Regions from separate parts of the Homo sapiens genome. Here all the other regions are linked to region 1. Evidence: promoter capture Hi-C in 16 types of primary human blood cells and fetal thymus (Javierre and others, 2016). All regions are on one chromosome and are shown on one strand. The core of a region is centred on a gene start or on the middle of the fragment in contact, and the rest is flanking DNA. Distances in the headings are between cores, read along the strand shown. Region 1 holds the start of SMG6 (SMG6 nonsense mediated mRNA decay factor). Region 2 overlaps RPA1 (replication protein A1). Region 3 overlaps RPA1 (replication protein A1). Region 4 has its middle 78 kb from the start of RPA1.

What was found. The method cuts DNA at HindIII sites, captures the fragments that hold promoters and counts their contacts. A CHiCAGO score of 5 or more calls a contact.
Region 2: a contact is called between a fragment that was not itself captured here and the fragment with the promoter of SMG6 in region 1, in 6 of 17 cell types (M1 macrophages, endothelial precursors, M2 macrophages and 3 more). The highest score is 8.7, in M1 macrophages.
Region 3: a fragment that was not itself captured here is called in contact with the fragment with the promoter of SMG6 in region 1 in 3 of 17 cell types (endothelial precursors, M1 macrophages and M2 macrophages); the score reaches 11.1 in endothelial precursors.
Region 4: a contact is called between a fragment that was not itself captured here and the fragment with the promoter of SMG6 in region 1, in 4 of 17 cell types (M1 macrophages, M0 macrophages, endothelial precursors and 1 more). The highest score is 7.4, in M1 macrophages.

The regions. Positions count from the first base shown.
Region 1 is chr17:2,301,015-2,305,556 of GRCh38, reverse strand. It overlaps SMG6 (SMG6 nonsense mediated mRNA decay factor), which reads left to right and starts at 1,772. Exons shown (of 19, transcript NM_017575.5): 1 at 1,772-1,924. The coding sequence starts at 1,837. It overlaps SRR (serine racemase), which reads right to left and starts at 1,607. Exons shown (of 8, transcript NM_021947.3): 1 at 1,540-1,607. RefSeq lists silencers at 1,523-1,742, 1,933-2,142 and enhancers at 1,644-2,370, 2,700-3,514. The HindIII fragment of the contact is 10,069 bases long and covers 1-4,542 here.
Region 2 is chr17:1,858,971-1,863,512 of GRCh38, reverse strand. All of the region lies in intron 5 of RPA1 (replication protein A1), which reads right to left. Among named protein-coding and RNA genes, the nearest start is that of RPA1, 31 kb to the right of the region's middle. The HindIII fragment of the contact is 481 bases long and covers 2,463-2,943 here.
Region 3 is chr17:1,878,323-1,882,864 of GRCh38, reverse strand. It overlaps RPA1 (replication protein A1), which reads right to left. Exons shown (of 17, transcript NM_002945.5): 9 at 3,804-3,872; 10 at 3,458-3,650; 11 at 3,166-3,305; 12 at 2,174-2,322. Among named protein-coding and RNA genes, the nearest start is that of RPA1, 51 kb to the right of the region's middle. The HindIII fragment of the contact is 357 bases long and covers 2,187-2,543 here.
Region 4 is chr17:1,905,619-1,910,160 of GRCh38, reverse strand. No RefSeq gene overlaps it. Among named protein-coding and RNA genes, the nearest start is that of RPA1, 78 kb to the right of the region's middle. RefSeq lists enhancers at 1,985-2,492, 2,493-3,001. The HindIII fragment of the contact is 5,203 bases long and covers 143-4,542 here.

The sequences.
Region 1 (4,542 bases), core at 523-3,022:
TGATTATTGCTCTTCTGCAGTCAGCTGTATTATCCCCTTCTGGAACTCGTATTTAATTATTAATTTTTTGTACCCCTTCTCCATGTCTCCTATCTTTGTCTCTCAGTTTTTATCTATTACCTTTTCCTTCTGAGTTCTGGTAAATTTTCTTGAACTGGTTTAACTTTTGGCATATCTAATCTGCAGTTCACTGACACTGTTGCATTAAATGGGTGGTGCCATTTGTCCTAAGAAAGTTTTCTTGTTTTCCATTATTTTTCCAGCTGAAAAAAGAAATCATGCAATGGCCTCTCAAATTTCAATATGAAACAGATTATTTTTTAACGCTTCTTCCTATTTCTCTCAAATCTGGTGGCAAAGGCTGTCTTCTGCTCTGACCACTCAAATGGTTCCTCTTCTGAACTGTTGGATCTTTTCACCCATCATCTACTGACTTTCTTCTTATGCTTAACCTTCCGGTGACAAAGTGTCACGTAAAAGGAACTGAAGGAGTTCTGTCAGAGGTTGTGGCAATCCCTTCGGCTCAGACTAAGGAATAATTGGTAACTATTCTGTGATGGGTGTGGGGTAAAAGCCTATGGGGCTGTGGAGGGGCAACAGGTGGAGGCAGGAGGCCTTGGGGAAGGGAGCTTCACCTCTGTACAGTTCTCCAAAAAAAGATTCAAGTACCAGCCTTCTGGTATAGTTCAATTTTAAAGATGGGAAATTAAAAAGTCAACCTGAGATCCACAGCAGTAATTTTTTTCAAGAATCCATAGTGACACAGAAATTCCCAAATTGACTTTTTTTTTTTTTTGAGGCGGAGTCTCGCTCTGTTGGAGACTCCCGGGCTGGAGTGCAGTGGCGCGATCTCGGCTCACTGCAGTCTCCGCCTCCCGGGTTCAAGCGATCCGCCCGTCTCAGCGTTCCGAGTCGCCGGGATTACAGGTCCCAAATGGACTTATATGCCTCCTGATGTACTTCCTTCCACACGATTCCAACTATATCGTATCTAGTTTTTAAAAGTCAGGGGGCGGCCGGGCGCGGTGGCTCACGCCTGTAATCCCAGCACTTTGGGAGGCCGACGCGGGTGGATCACCTGAGGTCAGGAGTTCGAGACCAGCCTAGTGAAACCCCGTCTCTACAAAAAATACAAAAATTAGCCGGGCTTGGTGGCGTGCACCTGTAATCCCAGCTACTAGGGAGGCTGAGGCAGGAGAATCGCTTGAATCCAGGAGGCAGAGGTTGCAGTGAGCCGAGACCGCGCCACTGCACTCCAGCCCGGGAGTCTCCAACAGAGCGAGACTCCAACTAAAAAAAAAAGGGAATAGTAACAACTACTCTTAGCAGATCTTCAAGGTCCCAAGTAATGGCCCGCGGCGCTAGGCCGGGCCTGTGGCGGGAGAGCCTGGCCTAAGGTGTCCAGAGGAGCCCAGGCTGAGGGGTGTCTCTGTCAACCCGAGTCCCAGACTAGCAGTGTCCTTGGTGTCCACGACAACAGCAACGGCAGCCACCGCCGCAAACGCCCGCCTGGCCTGGCACGGCCCGGCCTCGCCTCACCTCAGCTCACCGGCGCCGCGCCTCCAGCTCCAGCCTCCGCGCGCCTCCCCGGCCGCACCTCTGCGCACGCGCAGCGCCCGCCCGCCCCACCCAGGCTCTCGCTCCGGTCCCGCCCCTCTGGAACCGGCGGCGGGCGCTTTTCCTCCCAGCGCGGCCACCGTCGTTCGGAAAGGGAGGGCGGCAGGGGGCGGGGAAAGGCCGGGAGGTGGGCGAGCGCGCGCGCCGCCCGTCTGTGGTGGTTTCCTGGCTGCGCGCGGCGGTGGCGGAGCCGCTACGGCTGTAGCAGCAGCCGCGAAGATGGCGGAAGGGCTGGAGCGTGTGCGGATCTCCGCGTCGGAGCTGCGCGGGATCCTGGCTACTCTGGCCCCGCAGGCCGGGAGCAGAGGTGAGTCGCGCCGCCCAGCTCCTGGGCCGGGCCTGCCCGCCCCGCCTCCCTCTCCTCCTCCTCTGCCTCCTCCCCGCTCGGCCCTCGGCTCCGGAGCCCCCGCCCCTTCCCCCAGCAGTAGGCGCTGGGGCCGCGGCGGACCCTCGCTGCCCTACCTCTCTCGCGGGTTAGTGCGGGGTCGGGCTCGGCCAGTCCTGGCCAGCTCCGGGAGAGCCTGGCCCGAATTCCTGCCTCCACCCTCTTTCTCGCCGCGAAGGTGACTGTTCCTTTTGCCCCAGCCCTCTCAGACCCGCCCCGGATTCCCAGGCATCGGGAGACGCGGAAAGGAGTGGGGTCTGGTGGAGGCCCCGGGCGTATCGCTCTCCAGGCCGCCCTCCGCGGGCCTGCCCCGGCCACCGCTTTAACGTCGGAGAGAAGGAATTGGGGAGAAAGGTTTAAGAGCCTGCGACTTCGTTGCTGAACTTTTCCCCCCCAAGACAGGCTTCCGAAAGCTGCGCCACTGGAGGGATCCGGGACCTCAGACTACTCGGGTTTGGCCCTGGCATGTGTGGGAGCAGTTTTTATTAGAGAGAATGCTCAATTTGCAAGTTAATTTCAAGTCTCCAGCCACGTCAGGAAAGTAAGAAAGATTCTAAGTGTCTCACCTCTCCTGCGTTAGGCAATAGAGTTGTGTAGAATGGTAGCTGTGATAGGTGCCTTCTCTAGGTTTGCGGCCAGTCTGTGAAATTGGTTTTTGTTGATTAACATAATTGGATTATTAAGGCTATTTTCTCCCGCTGCTCTAGAAAGTAGTAGGAATAGCTTTCCCCATCCCCCCGCCCCCCACCAAGTTACAGACTGCCGAGGGTGAGCTATTCTTGGGTTAAACTGCTTTATCTTTGTGGATACTTCATGAACCTACCTTTTAAACTTATGAAAATAGTGAAGCACTATCCAAAACCTCAGTCTCTTTTCTTCCCCTTTTCCTTACACCTACAAACAGTAAATGTACTTGCTGGAGCATATGATTCCTGTTTTGGGCTTGTTTCCATTTATATTTAGAGAGCAATACTAGGATTAAAAACTTTTTTATTGTTGTTATTATTATTTTTTGAGACGGAGTCTAGCTCTGTCGCCCAGGCTGGAGTGCAGTGGCGCGATCTCTGCTCACTGCAACCTCCGCCTCCCGGGTTCACGCCATTCTCCTACCTCAGCCTCCCCAGTAGCTTGGACTGTAGGCGTGTGCCACCACGCCTGGCTAATTTTTTGTATTTTTGTAGTGACGGGGTTTCTCCGTGTTGGCCAGGATGGTCTGGACTCCTGTCCTCGTGATCCGCCCGCCTTGGCCTCCCAAAGTGCTGGGATTACAGGCGTGAGCCACCGTGCCCGGCCAATTTTTTTGAGGCAGGGTCTCACTCTGTCTTCCAGGCTGGAGTGCAGTGGAGGGATCTCAGCTCACTGTAGCCTCCCCCTCCTGTGCTCAAGTGATCCTCCCACCTCAGCCTTCCGAGTAGCTGGAATTACAGACCTGCACCACCACACCTGGCTATTTTTTGTATACGTTATAGAGACAGGGTGTTGCCATGTTGCCCAGGCTGATCTCGAACTCCTGGCCTCAAGCAGTCCTCCCGCCTCAGCCTCCCAAAGTGCTGGGATTATAGGCGTGAGCTACTGCACCTGGCCTATGCTAGGATTTTATATAGCATTCCATTTGTGTACTTGATAATATTCTCCCGAATTCTGTCACTTTTCCATTGTAATGTTTAGTGGTTACTTTTGATAACGGTAACAGATACTTTTTTAAAAAACCAGATACTTAAGTAAGTATCTGTCCGCTGGGCTGGAGTGCACTGGCGCGATCTCCGCGTACTGCAAGCTCCGCCTCCTGGGTTCACGCTATTCTCCTGCCTCAGCTTCCCGAGTAGCTGGGACTACAGGCGCCCACCACCACGCCCGGCTAATTTTTTGTATTTTTTGTTGAGACGGGGTTTCACCGTGTTAGCCAGGATGGTCTCGATCTCCTGACCTCGTGATCCACCCACCACGGCCTCCCAAAGTGCTGGGATTACAGGCGTGACCCACCGCGCCCGGCCGAGAGTGGTTTCTAAAGTCCTGTATTATTCTTAATTCTTGAGTTCCCAGTTGTTGGCATTTTGAGAGTATGTCACAATCTTTCCATCAGCATCCAGGGAAAGTTCCCTTATGGAACTTTTTTCTAATAATTCCATCATCACAGTAGCAGTTAGTGTCAGTATTCTAGTATGATAGTCTGAGCAGTATTTTGGTAACTCTGTGAGCTACTGTTAGTGAGTTGGTGAGGATGGGTGAAGTTGAAGAATGGGAAAAGAACTGCTTGCTGTTTAATTCACCAGCAGGTATGTTATTTGGTAATTGGTATCTTGAAGAAGAGAATCATCCTGGTCAAGTTTAAAGACTAAAGTTGCATTTTTTTTCTCCAGAGATGTCCAGGACTGATAATTGTTATAATACCCTCCCTCCTTTTTCTCCTTTTTTACTTCTTCCTCCTGCTGTTATGTTAAAAGAACTTAGCCACCCAGGAAAAAGTTAGAGGCGGAAGAAAAGGCTGAGGTGGATTCACAGGCTCTATAGATAGAGAACAGTGTAGTGCTGAAAAGGTT
Region 2 (4,542 bases), core at 1,454-3,953, 440 kb after region 1:
GGCCAGGCACGGTGGCTCACACCTGTAATCCCAACACTTTGGGAGGCCAAGGTGGGTGGATCACCTGAGGTCAGGAGTTCGAGACCAGCCTGGCCAACGTGGTGAAACGCCGTCTCTACTAAAAATAAAAAAAATTAGCTGAGTGTGGTGGCGGGCACCTGTAATCCCAGCTACTCGGGAGGCTGAGGCAGGAGAATCGCTTGAGCCCGGGAGGTGGAGGTTGCAGTGAGCCGAGATTGTGCCATTGCACTCCAGCCTGGGTGACAGAGTGAGACTCGTCTCAAAAAAATAAAATAAAATAAAATAAAATAAAATAAAATAAAATAAATTAGTTGGGCGTGGTGGTTCACGCTCCCAGCTACTGGGAAAGCTGAGGTGGGAAGATCACTTGAGCCTGGGAGGTTGAGGCTACAGTAAGCCCTTTTTGAGCCACTGCACTCCAGCCTGGATGGCAAAGCAAGAACCTGTCTCCAAATAACTAAATAAATAAATCTTGGCCGGGCACGGTGGCTCACGCCTGTAATCCCAACACTTTGGGAGGCTGAGGCAGGCAGATCACCTGAGGTCAGCAGTTCGAGACTAGCCTGGCCAACATGGTGAAACTTCGTCTCTACTAAAAATACAAAAATTAGCTGGGCGTGGTGGCGGGCACTTGTAATCCCAGCTACTTGGGAGCCTGAGGCAGGAGAATCACTTGAACCCGGGGGAGGTTGCAGTGAGCGGAGATCGTTCCAGTGCACTCCAGCCTGGGCAACAAAGCAAAACTTCATCTCAAAAAAAAAAAAAAAAAAAAAAGCTGGGCACAGTGACTCACGCCAATAATCTTAGCACTTTAGGAGGTCAAGGTGGGCGGATCACTTGAGGTCAGGGGATCGAGACCAACCTGGCCAACATGGTGAAACCCCATCTCTACTAAAAATACAAAAATTAGCTGGGCATGGTGGTGTGTGCCTGTAATCCCAGCTACTGGTGAGGCTGAGGCATGAGGATAGCTTGAACTGGGAGGTGGAGGTTGCAGTGAGCCAAGATCATGCAACTGCACTCCAGCCTGGGCAACAAAGTGAGACTCCATCTCAAATAAATAAATAAATAAATAAATATTGAGCTAATCGATATTAACATCTACTTCTTCCATGTGGACAGCAGGGACAAGAGAGGTATAAGAGAGCTACATTCTAAGCTGGGCGCTGTGGCTCACACCTGTAATCCTGGCACTTTGGGAGGCTCAGGTGGGCGGATTGCTTGAGCCCAGGAGTTCAAGACCAGCCTGGACAACATAGACTCCATCGCTACAAAAAAAAAAAAAAAAAAAAAAAAATACGGTTGGGGGCGGTGGCTCACGCCTGTAATCCCAGCACTTTGGGAGGCTGAGGCGGGCAGATCACGAGGTCAGGAGATGGAGACCATCCTGGCTAACACAGTGAAACCCCGTCTCTACTGAAAATACAAAAAAAATCACCCGGGCATGGTGGTGGGTGCCTGTAGTCCCAGCTACTCAAGCAGGAGAATGGCGTGAATCCGGGAGGTGGAGCTTGCAGTCAACCGAGACCGCGCCACTGCACTCCAGCCTGGGCGACACAGTGAGACTCCGTCTCAAAAAATAAAAAAATAAAAACAAAAATTAGCAGGGTGCAGTGGTGCACGCCTGTAATCCCAGCTACTGAGGAGGCTGAGGCAAGGAGGATTGCTTGAGTCCAGGAGGCGGAGGTTGCAGTGAGCCAAGATCACGCCACTGGACTCCAGCCTGGGTGACAGTGTGAGACTCTTAAAAAAGAAAAAAAAAAAAGAGAGAGCACCACATTCTAATCTCCCATAGCGTGAAGTTAATAAACAAATGTTTCAACTGAAAAAATTAACGAAGAGCAGCACAAATGTGTTATTTAGAAATATGGAGACAAACAGAGAAGAAACAGCTGTGAGATTTGAAACAGACTGTCTCTAGACAGGAGTCAGAGGCCAAAGAAAAGTGAGGCAGGAGAATGCTGTTTTGTTTTTAAGGACACACCTCGCAAAAATATTCAACTTTTAAAACTACGTACCGGACAAATGGAGCAACAGAGACCAGGTTCACCCTAACACCTAACATAACCCCCTCCCCCCACCAGAAAGGGAGAAAATACGTGAGACGCATGGTTTTCAATGAGGGGTAGCGCCTGCTGTGCACAGGAAAGCGAGCGAGTGGGTCTGCACCAGCTCAGTGCCTCAAGGGCTTAGGGGGCCTGCCAGAACCCGAGGTGCAGAAATGGGGGCCGAGAGTCTGGGGAGATCGCCGTCTAGCTGGCCGGACAGAGTAGCAGAGAAGAGAGGGCTGTACACAGAGAACTCCAGAAATGGGTGGCAGGTTTCCTGGGTAGTCAGCAGAGTCCTGGTTGGCCCGTGTGTGTGTGTGGACACGATCTGAGGCCAGGGTGAGAATCATCTGAGAAGGCCAGAGGGAACCATGCCTGTGTTTACAGCAAGCTTGAAATAGTACCTGTTTCTACCAGTCAGATGGGAAAAATTCATATTCATGGGGCACGAGGTAGAACAGTCTGTCAGGTCTCGATTCAGTATTGGGAATAACTACACCTAGACTAAATGCAGCTCTCTGATTCTCTAATAAATCTTAAAAGCAACACACCAAAAGATCAAACTGTCTCCAAGTTAACTGTATCCCTGAAAAAAGCTCAAGAATAATTACAGGATTACAAAAGTTTCTAGCACCCAACGAGGTACGAATCCCAATGTCTGGCATTCGGTCCGAGGGCCAGGCATGAAAAGCAGCAGGAAAATATGATCCATGATCGGAGAGGCCGGGATCAACTGACGGAAACAAATCCGGACCTAACACAGACACCAGAATCCACAGACAAGGACCTTACAACAAATACTGTCATTGTGCTCTGTATGTCCCAAAAATTAAGCAGAGATGTAGATGAGTTTTTAAAGACCCAAAATCAAGCTTCTAGGGATAAAAACTATACTATCTGAGAAGAAAAATACACTCAATGGGATTAACAGCAGATTAGGCACTGCCTGAGAAACCATTAGTGAACTTGAACGGCTAGCAATAGAAAGTATACACAATGGCCAGGCACAGTAGCTTATGCCTGTAATTCAGCCTTTTGAGAGGCTAAGGCAGGAGGATTGAGGCCAGGAGTTTGAGACCAGCCTGGGCAACAAAGTGAGACCCCGCCCCTACAAATAAAAAGAAAAGAAATGAGCCGGGCGTGGTGGCACTGCCGTCCCAGCCCCAGTCCAGGCAGTCCACAGGCAGGCCCGGCACTCCACCTCCCAGACTACAGGTGCAGCCTGCAGTCCCAACTACTTGGGAGGCTGAGGCAGGAGGATTGCTGGAGGCCAGGAATTCAAGACCAGTGTGGGCAACATGGCAGGACTCCATGTCCACAAAAAATAAAATTAGGCCAATTATGGTGGCTCACGCCTTTAACCCCAGCACTTTGGGAGGCTGAGGCGGGCAGATCATGACGTCAAGAGATGGAGACCATCCTGGCCAACATGGTGAAACCCTATCTCTACTAAAAATACAAAAATCAGCTGAGCATGGTGATGCGTGCCTGTAGCCCTAGCTACTCAGGAGGCTGAGGCAGGAGAATCGCTTGAACCTGGGAGGCGGAGGTTGCAGTGAGCCGAGATCACGCCACTGCACTCCAGCCTGGCAACAGAGTGAGACTTCGTCTCAAAAATAAATAAATAAATAAAAAACAAAATAAAATTAGCTGGGCGTGGTGGCACATGCCTGTAGTCCCAGCTACTCAGGAGGCGGAGGTGGGAGGATTGCTTGAGCCCAAGGTGTTGAGGCTGCACTGAGCCGTGAATGTACCACTGTACTCCAGCCTGGGCAACAGAGCAAGATGTTGTCTCTAGGAGAGAAAAAACAAAACAAAACAAAAAAAACGCCAAAGTGGCTATGCTAATATCAAAGCAGACTTCAAAGCACAGAATTTCCCAGGGATAAAATCATTTCATAATAATAAGAGTCAACTCATCAAGTGGACACAAGAATTCTAAATTATATAGATATTTAATAATACAGCTTTGAAATACATGAAGCAAAAACTAATAGAACTGCAGAGAGACAGAGAAACTTACAATTATTACAGTTAGAGATTTCAATATCCCTCTCAGTAAATGACAGAACAAGTAAACAGAAAAACAGTAAAGATATAGAAAAACTGAATAACACAATTTACCGACTCGACCTAATTGACATTTGTAAGACTCTGCCCAACAACAGAATACACATTCTTTTCAAGTACACACAGAATTTACCAAGAGAGACCATAATCTGGACATAAAATAAGACTCAAGGCTGGGGAAGGTGGGTCACTCCTGTAATCCCAGCACTTTGGGAGGCCAAGGCAGGCAGATCATCCGAGGTCAGGAGTTTGACACCAGCCTGGCTAACACGGCAAAACCCTGTCTTTACTAAAAATACAAAAATTAGCCAGGCATGGTGGCAGGCACCTGTAGTCCTAGCTACCTGGGAGGCTGAGATAGGAGAATCGCTTGAACCTGGGAGGTGGAGATTGCAGTGAGCCA
Region 3 (4,542 bases), core at 1,116-3,615, 420 kb after region 1:
ACAACCCGTAAGCTATAAAGTGGCCGTCTGGGGTAGTCCTTTAATCTGCTAATGCTCATTCTCAGGCAGCAGCTGCGTGGTGATCATCACCGAAATGTACCAGTGTGGAAACGGACAGCCAATATACCGTGGTAGCAAAAGTGTTTCCATAAAAGGCCTCCTATGCCTGATACAGAAGCCAAAAGTGGTTTTTTTGTTTTGAGACAGAGTCTTGCTTTGTCACCCAGGATGGAGTGTGGTGGTACCAACTTGGCTCGCTGCAACCTCCACCTCCTGGCAAGTGATTCTCGTGCCTCAGCCTCCCGAGTAGCTGGGACTACAGGCACGCACCGAGTAGCTGGGACTACAGGCCCGGCTGATTTTTGTATTTTTTGTAGAGACGAGGTTTCACCATGTTGGCCAGGCTGGTCTTGAACTCCTGGCCTCAAGCAATTGTCCACCTCGGCCTCCCAAAGTGCTGGAATTAAGGTATGAGCCACCGTGCCTGGCCCAAAAGATTTTATAAACCAGAGCAACTTATCAGAAGGCATTATCTTTTTTCTTGTAGATTTACCTTCTTAGTGAAATTTTACTTTTGCTAATATCGAAGCTAAATTAATTTGTATTAAATTATTATGAAAACTGATTGTACTTCTTGATCACACATCAATTGATATGAAGGAAAAGGGGCCAAGGAGAAAGTGGCTCGGGAACACAGTGGTGGCGGAGAGGAGCTGGCCGGAGATGAAAGGCCAAATACCATCCCAAGGTGGGTAACCACACAAAGAACAGGTTCCTTAAACAGAGACCATCTAACAGAATGGATGTTACCCTGAGCTGCAGACAGCTGCCTTCTCCTGTCAGGTAAGCGGCTAAATCCCTCACAGGGGCACAGCAAGGCCCATCCATCTGTTTCACCACTACTAGCTACACAAGTTCACGGTTTCAAAAGCTCCAAGGAGACATTTGCCACCAAAGATCACTCGTCAGGAGTCAAGGCGGCCCTTCTTACAATAAAAACTCTGCATTGTTATAGCCAAGATCTAAACATCTCTAATCCTTGTCCAGGTATCATGTATGCACTGAGCTTGTCTTTGATCAATGCCAAGTTATTTTATTCTGGGGACAGCCGTGCTTTTTATGTTGACTGGGATCATGATTATTGACAAGTAAAAGATGAAGACATTAATGTGGGAATGCAATTTTAATGTGGGAATGCGATTTTAATGTGGGAATGCAATTAACCTGGAGTCGAACTCCAGAGCCTAAAAGAAAATCAAGCAATAAGAAAAAAGCAAATCTGTGGCTAGTTCTGGTCAGACTATGAACGGGCCCTGCAGTTCGGCAGATACGTGTGGACCGTACTACTCATGAGGATGGCTCAGTGACATGAACATTCCAGAAGATGCTTCATGAAACTGGTCAAACACCAGTGCCATTGGTTTAAATGACTCAAAACAAAGGAGGAGTATGTAAAATGAGCTCATTCTTTAGCTGCTTAAATCCTAAGACACAGCTGGAAACTGACACACTTCCCCCCCATAGACTACAGCTATGGGAATTATTGAAGCTTGGGTGAAAGTGTTTTCCCTGACCACATCAATTCTTGCATCCTGTGTCTCAGTTTGAAGTACTCTTTTAAGACAGAGTTTGAATGTCCTAAAAAGCTAGATACAGTGAGGAGATTTTAACAGGCTCTCCTCATCCCTTGAGTGCTTTGGGAATAACAATCTAATCCTAACAAAAAGCCCATTGTTCTCACCACACTTGATCAGAGTCTAGTGAATACACACTAGAAGATGTGATCGGCACCAAAGACTTGACAGAGAAAGAAAGCATGTGTTCCCCCACGCCACAGAGGCCCAGAGCCTAAACCCTGGAAAGAAAGGCGCCTTCAGCACACCGCTGCTGAAGCCTGGCCGTCCCCTCCTTTGGCAGGATCGAGGTCAGCAGGCAGCACTTACATGCTAATTGCCTCCTCCGACTCTCTAGGTTTGTCCTGGGATTACAGGTTTGTCCGTTTAAGGGCTTTAAAGCCCTCCTCACAGAAGGCATAATGCCTTCAAGAAACACGGAAGCTGCACCACTCAGGGACGAAGGCTTCTGCTTGGCAGAAAGCTCCCATGCTGATTGTAACCAGCTTTTCTCAAAGCCCAGCCTCAAGTAACCCTTTGTTTAGCCCCACAAAACCTACCATCCACGAAGCTTATAGGCCTCTGGGATGTCAGGATTCGCAATGATAGTGCTTGAAGACAGCACGGAGAGGCTCCGTCCACCGAAATCAGAGACTCGGGCTCCTTTGATAGCCAACACGGGCTGTCTAGAACCATCAAATTTATCAGCCTGTAAAAGAAACACCAGACATATACAAGTGTCACTAGCAGGAAGAACACAGAAGATTTTTATAGAAAACAAGGCAAACATTCAATAGTAGAGTGAATGTAATCAGCGTACATGGAATCCATACAAGACAGACCTCACACATGAGAATCTACTCAGAGACACATCAAAACTATCACTGCTTTCCTAGAGTTAGGGGAAAGAGCATTTCCCCGCGTAAAGCTTGAATCACAGCAAATCTCACAGAAGTAAGATAAAGGATTTTAAATACTTACCAGACAGCACAATCCTTCCCATCTACATGGTGAAAGCCCCCAACTCATAGGACAAAACCGCCCCCACGAGGAGCTCCTCCTGTGTGTGCTAACAGCCCCATCCTATAGGACAAGACGCCCCCTCCGCCAACCCCAGGAGCTCCTCCTGTGTGTGCTGAAGGCCCCATCCTATAGGACAAGACCCCTCCCTCCCCCAACCCCAGGAGCTCCTCCTGTGTGTGCTGAAGGCCCCATCCTATAGGAACAGACGCCCCCTCCGCCAGCTCCAGGAGCTCCTCCTGTGTGTGCTGAAGGCCCCATCCTATAGGACAAGACCCCTCCCTCCCTCAACTCCAGGAGCTCCTCCTGTGTGTGCTGAAGGCCCCATCCTATAGGACAAGATGCCCCCTCCGCCAACTCCTGGAGCTCCTCCTGTGTGTGCTGAAGGCCCCATCCTATAGGATAAGACCACTCCCTCCCCCAACTCCAGGAGCTCCTCCTGTGTGTGCTGAAGGCCCCATCCTATAGGACAAGACCACGCCCCAACCCCAGGAGGTCCTGTGCGTGTTGAAGACCCCATCCCAGCACTTACATCTTCCCCCCACAGTGTAGCAGTCACCACCTTCCCGGATGTGTCCATCAAGTAGATATTCCTCTTGGCAACTTCTCTGTTGTTAGACCTCACTGTGATTTTAGTGGCGTCTTCATAGCTCTTGCAGATCCCGATGATGTCTAAAACACATGCACGTGTTAGCAGGAGGTGGTCAAGACTCCCATTCCGACGCCAGCAAATGATGAACGGCAAGCACTGAAGCCTGACACCACCCCGTACACTGCAAAGAAAGCTAGTCATCCCTGCTCTTCCTTCTCATACACGAGCTTACCTACAAGTGAGTCTTTCGACTTGTTCTCGAGGTCATCAATCCCCGTGAAATCAAACTGAACCGTAGGTAAATGATGGTCGTCCTCACAGGGCATGACGGAAGTCTCGTTATTGAAGGTCATCTCGTAGTCATTTTTAACAGCTGTGAACTGCTTGTTAGCAATCTTCAGGGTGCCTTTCGAGAAATAATACACCTGCGAAGGAGGCCAAGCCACAGAACCTGAGACTACCATCAAATCGGACAGAAACCCCTAGTCTGCCACCACACACCCCTCCCCTGGGCCAGCGTCTTTTCATCCGCACTCCACCCCCAGGCGGTGTCAGTTCTAAAGTCAGCACGGCCATACCTTGTTCACTTCAATAAGAGGAAAGAACTTGTCCACTTGCTCATTGAAAGCTGTAGCTCGGATTTCACCCTGCAGAAGCACGTGGGCAGGTTAGGGCTGCGGGATTGAACACAGGCCACCCCAGCACCCAAGTGACACTGGGATAGAACACAGGCCACCCTAGCACCAAAGTGACATCTTGAGAGCAGTGGCCCTTGCACAAACAGGGTCCAGAGAGGGCTACGGACATCCCAGGAACCCGCATTTTACAGTCACACACTGAAGTCACTGGCCCCGCTGAAGAATGAGAATTTCAGCTAGCCGATCCCATAATCATGCTGCATTAGCCTCAACTGAGAAACAGAACAGAACAAAACGGCAATGACGAGTTTAATTTATTCTGACAATAAAAACAAAAAAAGTTGAATACTGAGGGACACGCCCAGAGCCCACGAGGAAGGTGCTGCCACGGGGTGATTCACCGGCTCCCTCCACAGTGCCCTCTCAGTGACAAACCACTTCACATTCGGAGCCATTGCCAAAAATGTCAGAGTAAGTCATGTTTGCAAGTTGCTTGTGATCTGATTTTCACTTTTGCTTTTCTGTCAGCCAAAATTTACAAGTGGACAAGAAATTTTAGCCAACCACCATACATTAGAGCAATAATTTCTAAAAAAAAATTAGGTTCTAATATTGATTCTGCCATCACACAAACATTTTGGGTGTTATATCAACTTCCAAAAAAAACATCTATTTTTTT
Region 4 (4,542 bases), core at 1,495-3,994, 400 kb after region 1:
CTCATCAAATACCAGCAGTTCCACTGAATGACAAGCTGACGGCCCCCAATGGGCCTTCATAATACATGAGTAGACTCATTCTTCCTTGAGATGGTCAGGCTGGCCTTTGCCTCATGCAAAACTCCCAGGACATAGAAAAGCTTAACAGCCACACCTCAAAAAATTCTGTGGGCTTCATAATTCCCACCCAGAAGGGAACTGGCTCCTGCAACAATGGATCCCCAGAGCTTGGCCCCTTCCCCCATGGCCTGGGGGCACCTTCCTACAGAATACCTCCTGGAAACCTATATTTCTATTTTGGGGGACCACTCTGCTCCTGCACACGGAGAAAGGAAGAGTTGAGGTTTCCATGGTCATTTTTCGTTACAGTAATGAAAGTCTTGAAATGATCACAGAAGGAAAATTGGAAAATATGTCTCCTAAAAAGAGCTGAGGCAAATTATTATAGCAACCGAATCCTAAAAGGAATTTTCAAGTAAAAATATGGCTCATGTGAAGTTGTTATGGCAACTGACATTTAAAAGTAACTGGATTTGGGCAAGTTTCTTTCCCCACCCTCTCTGCAAAGTCTTGCAGTAACTTCATGCTAAAATTATGCCTTAATTTTAATTAGCCAAATAGGTCATAAATATAGCATATTCCCAAATCCTTACAATTTCTACCCTGTGAGCAGCTGATCTACTAATGAGAAACTGTTTCTACAAAAACCCACTTACCATTAACACGCCTATGCAATATTTTTCTAATATAATTTATCAATTTAAACACATTGCATAATGTGATATTCTGTAGCATTCTATTAACATGATAAATAGCAGTGGGCGGGGGGGAAGCCCAAGAGATTAAACATATTGCAAGCAATGTAACTGCATTTAAATAACTCAGACCACTGCCGAGGAAAACACACTGTTCCCATCGTCAAATACAGTCTAAACTCGGCTGCATATCCCAGACTGTACGGGTATTAATAGGACGGGAGAAGGGGGGCAATAAGAAATGACAGGCAACTTCAAAGAAATAAAATTTCTATTAGGCTTTGTTATAAGATTACATCAAAGCAGTTCATATGTTTTAATCTGGGGAGAGAAGAAGCAGCTACTTGGGGTTTGCGCCTGGGGGCTGCCTCTGTGTACTGAACCAGACAGTTTGCATAATGAACAATTTTCATTCAACCAGGATTTCAGCACAGATAGCTCCCTCTGCAAGGTCCCAGGCACAGGCTCATAGTTTTTATTCTCCCAGCTCCACCTGCTGGAGAAACAGCTTGTAACCGGGAGGAAGGGGACACAGGGCAGCGTTTCTAAGCCACGATGCTAAATTCGGGTGTCTGAAGTTAGGGATCTGACTTTAGACACCCCGACCCGCCGCGCCCCGCCGACAGGGCCTCTGTGAGACACCCCAGGGCGCAGCCTGGATCCGCCCCTGCAGCCGGCAGGGAAGGCGCGGGCGGGGGGTGGGGGTCCAGGCCTGACACCTTCGCCCCTCCCAGCGCCTCCGGAATTAGGGAATTTGGAAATCGTCGTTTGCATTCTGAGTCGAACCCCAGGGAGAATGGAGTTGCTGCAAGGCAGGTCGCCTCGAGAGACTGGCGGACAAGGTGGCTGGCTTCAAACACCAAACGCGGTTCCCACCTGGCCAGTCACCTTTCAAGTTTCCCAGCCACCCGGGTCTCCAGGAAATCAAACGGGGGAGAAAAACTGCCCGCGTGGAATTGCATTTTCATGCACAATGGGAAACCTAAACGCTGAGCAGATCGTCTTGAAAACCTGGCACAGCCGACGCAGGCTTGGAGGACGGGAAGTCCCGGGCGAGCGGCTGCTCCAGGACTCGGGGCTGCGGCCTAATCCGCGCTGATCCCCGGGCTTAGCGCGCGCCCCTCCCCGGCTGAGGTCGCGGGACCCGCAGGCCCCACCTGGCTGTGTCCCCTTGGGGAGGCCGCCCGGGAGGGGAGGTGACATCAAGCCGCGTGCAACTGTTTTCGAAAACCTGGGATGATCATTTAAATGTTTAAAATATGCACATGGTAATTCAAAACTAATTACCCTGAGCACATTTGAAACATTTATGCCATCGTCTCTGGATCCTGCCTACTGATTGTGCGCGGCGGCTCACTCTGCTGTTTCTATAAACTGCTTCAGCGATTTTAACTTCCAGGCTAAATCCGGCAGCGCAGGCTCTGCCTCCCGCCCCTGGTTGGTGGAGAGACCCCTTTCCTGACTTCCAGGAGAGGAGGCTGCACCCCGTTTCCCTGGAGAGCCATTTGTCACGGTCTCGCAGCTCTGGCTACGGAATCCCTGCCCTCGTTGTGTTCATAATGGTCATTTCCATTATTTAATTTAGGTTAAAATGACCTCTCTCCCCACCTATTCCTTTTCTTGTTGTTTTCTCCCCATTTCCCCTTCCTCTGTCTTGGCACGTGGCCCCCATCTCCTAATGACACCCCACCCGGCCCCTTCTCCATTTGGGGGTGCGCATGGAAGGCTTTTGGGGGTTGGGGGTGCACATGGAAGGCTTTTGGGGGTTGTAAGGTGGCCACATCTACCAGCCACCCTGAGAAGCAGGACTGAACTGGGCCAACCTGGGCGAACAGCGGCCACTGCCGGGCACGTTATAGTGGCTGCCAGGGCACACACGTGCACATGCCACACACACGTGTGCACACACACCATCCACGTGCACGCATGCCTCAGACACGGAGCCAGGCCTGCTTACGGACTGGACTAATTAGACCTAGGCAGGTCCTGAAGCAAATTCACTTTCCCAATTTCCAGAATAAAATGAGTTCTCTTCCTTTGGGGGCACTAAACCAGCATGCCGGGCTCAGGGACGGAGAATGGTGATGTGTGGCTGAAACGACCTGACTTCCCAAGTCTATCCGGAGAGACTGACCGAGGGCTGGGATTGGAAGAGGCGCCATTCCGGAGTCCAGAAATTAACATAGGCTTATAAATATGTTCCAGGACACAGACGAGCGATGACTGGTTCCTTATTATGCGAAGATGCCAGTGGCAGGTTTTAGGCGTTTAGGAATACAAAAGTGGGTTAGATTCCCACGGCCGGCTCCAGTGTGATAGAGTGATATTACCAGGTTTAACTAGAGCCATTAAGAGACTCTTCATTATCCCCACACCACCGCCACCAAAGTTATCACAGAAACCATAATGCAAGAGAGAATTTCCATTCCATCAACAAGAGAGGGAGCCAGTCTATCTTTGTCCAGAGAAAATGAGCATCCCAGCACGAAGCTCGTGAGGAATAGAGTGCACAACCCTCCAATAACATGCCCGGCAGGATTTCCTCAGCTATGCAGTTGGCTAAGCGGAGGCAGGCTGCTCCGGCTCTATCTTCTCGTGTACCTGGCCTGCAAGAATGCCAGCTCTATGAGCAGCTGAAAGATCAATTAGTGACAAAGGACACTCCTAGGACTTACATTCCACAGGGCTTAAGTCTTAAGCTCCAAGGAAATGAAGATCCAGGCCGCCCTCCCAGTGTGCAGCAATCTCATTTATTTTTCTACAAAGACTCACCACTCAAACCAAGCTAATTTTCTTGGTATCACCTGCACCTGGTTTACTGGCTCCTGAGCAACGTGCCAGTCCTTCAGTTTGAAATGGACTTTTCTTCCAGCCGATCCTTTTTTTTTTTTTTTTTTTTTGAGACGGAGTTTCGCTCTTGTTGCCCAGGCTGGAGTGCAATGGCGCGATCTCGGCTCACTGCAACCTCCGTCTCCTGGGTTCAAGCGATTCTCCTGCCTCAGCCTCCCGAGTAGCTGGGATTACAGGCATGCACCACCACCCCGGCTAATTTTGTATTTTTAGCAGAGACGGGGTTTCTCCATGTTGGTCAGGCTGGTCTTGTACTCCCGACCTCAGGTGATCCACCCACCTCGGCCTCCCAAAGTGCTGGGATTACAGGCGTGAGCTACTGCGCCCGGCCAGCCAATCCCTTTTTTGCAACTTCACGATGACAACTCATAGGTTTTTTGTCTGCCTCCACCAGACTGTCCGCTCTCCTTCACTGGACTCCCTTCACACACCACGTACTCAGCATCCTCTGTGTCACTCTGGTTTTGCTTATAGAAAGTGCTCTTCCATTTTGTGAGGCTCCCCCCCCGCCATGGACGGATAATGAGAAGGGACCAGGTCTTCTATTTCCTTCACATTTCTTGTGTCACCTCAAGTATCTTCTCACGGGACAGACACCATGTCAGATATACGGAGGACCCAGTTTTATAGCTGAGCCCCACGAGACGACCCAGCACACCCCCATACACACAGCAAAAATTGCCCCCCTCATTCAGATGTTCCTGGCATCCTGTAACTTGCCCAAAGCTAGATTTATTGCTCCTGCTGTAAAGTGTATCTGCTCTAAGCCTCACTTAAAAGCTATCACTTGGCAGAAGATCAAGTTAAAAGTGCAGGCTAGCAGGTGATGGTGAGGGTAGGAGAGGGTGGGGAGGGCGGGGTGGAGCCAAGAATGGAAGCGCTGAGAACTACCAGCCCAATATTTAACCTAACTGGTAATTTGCTGTGACAATTATGC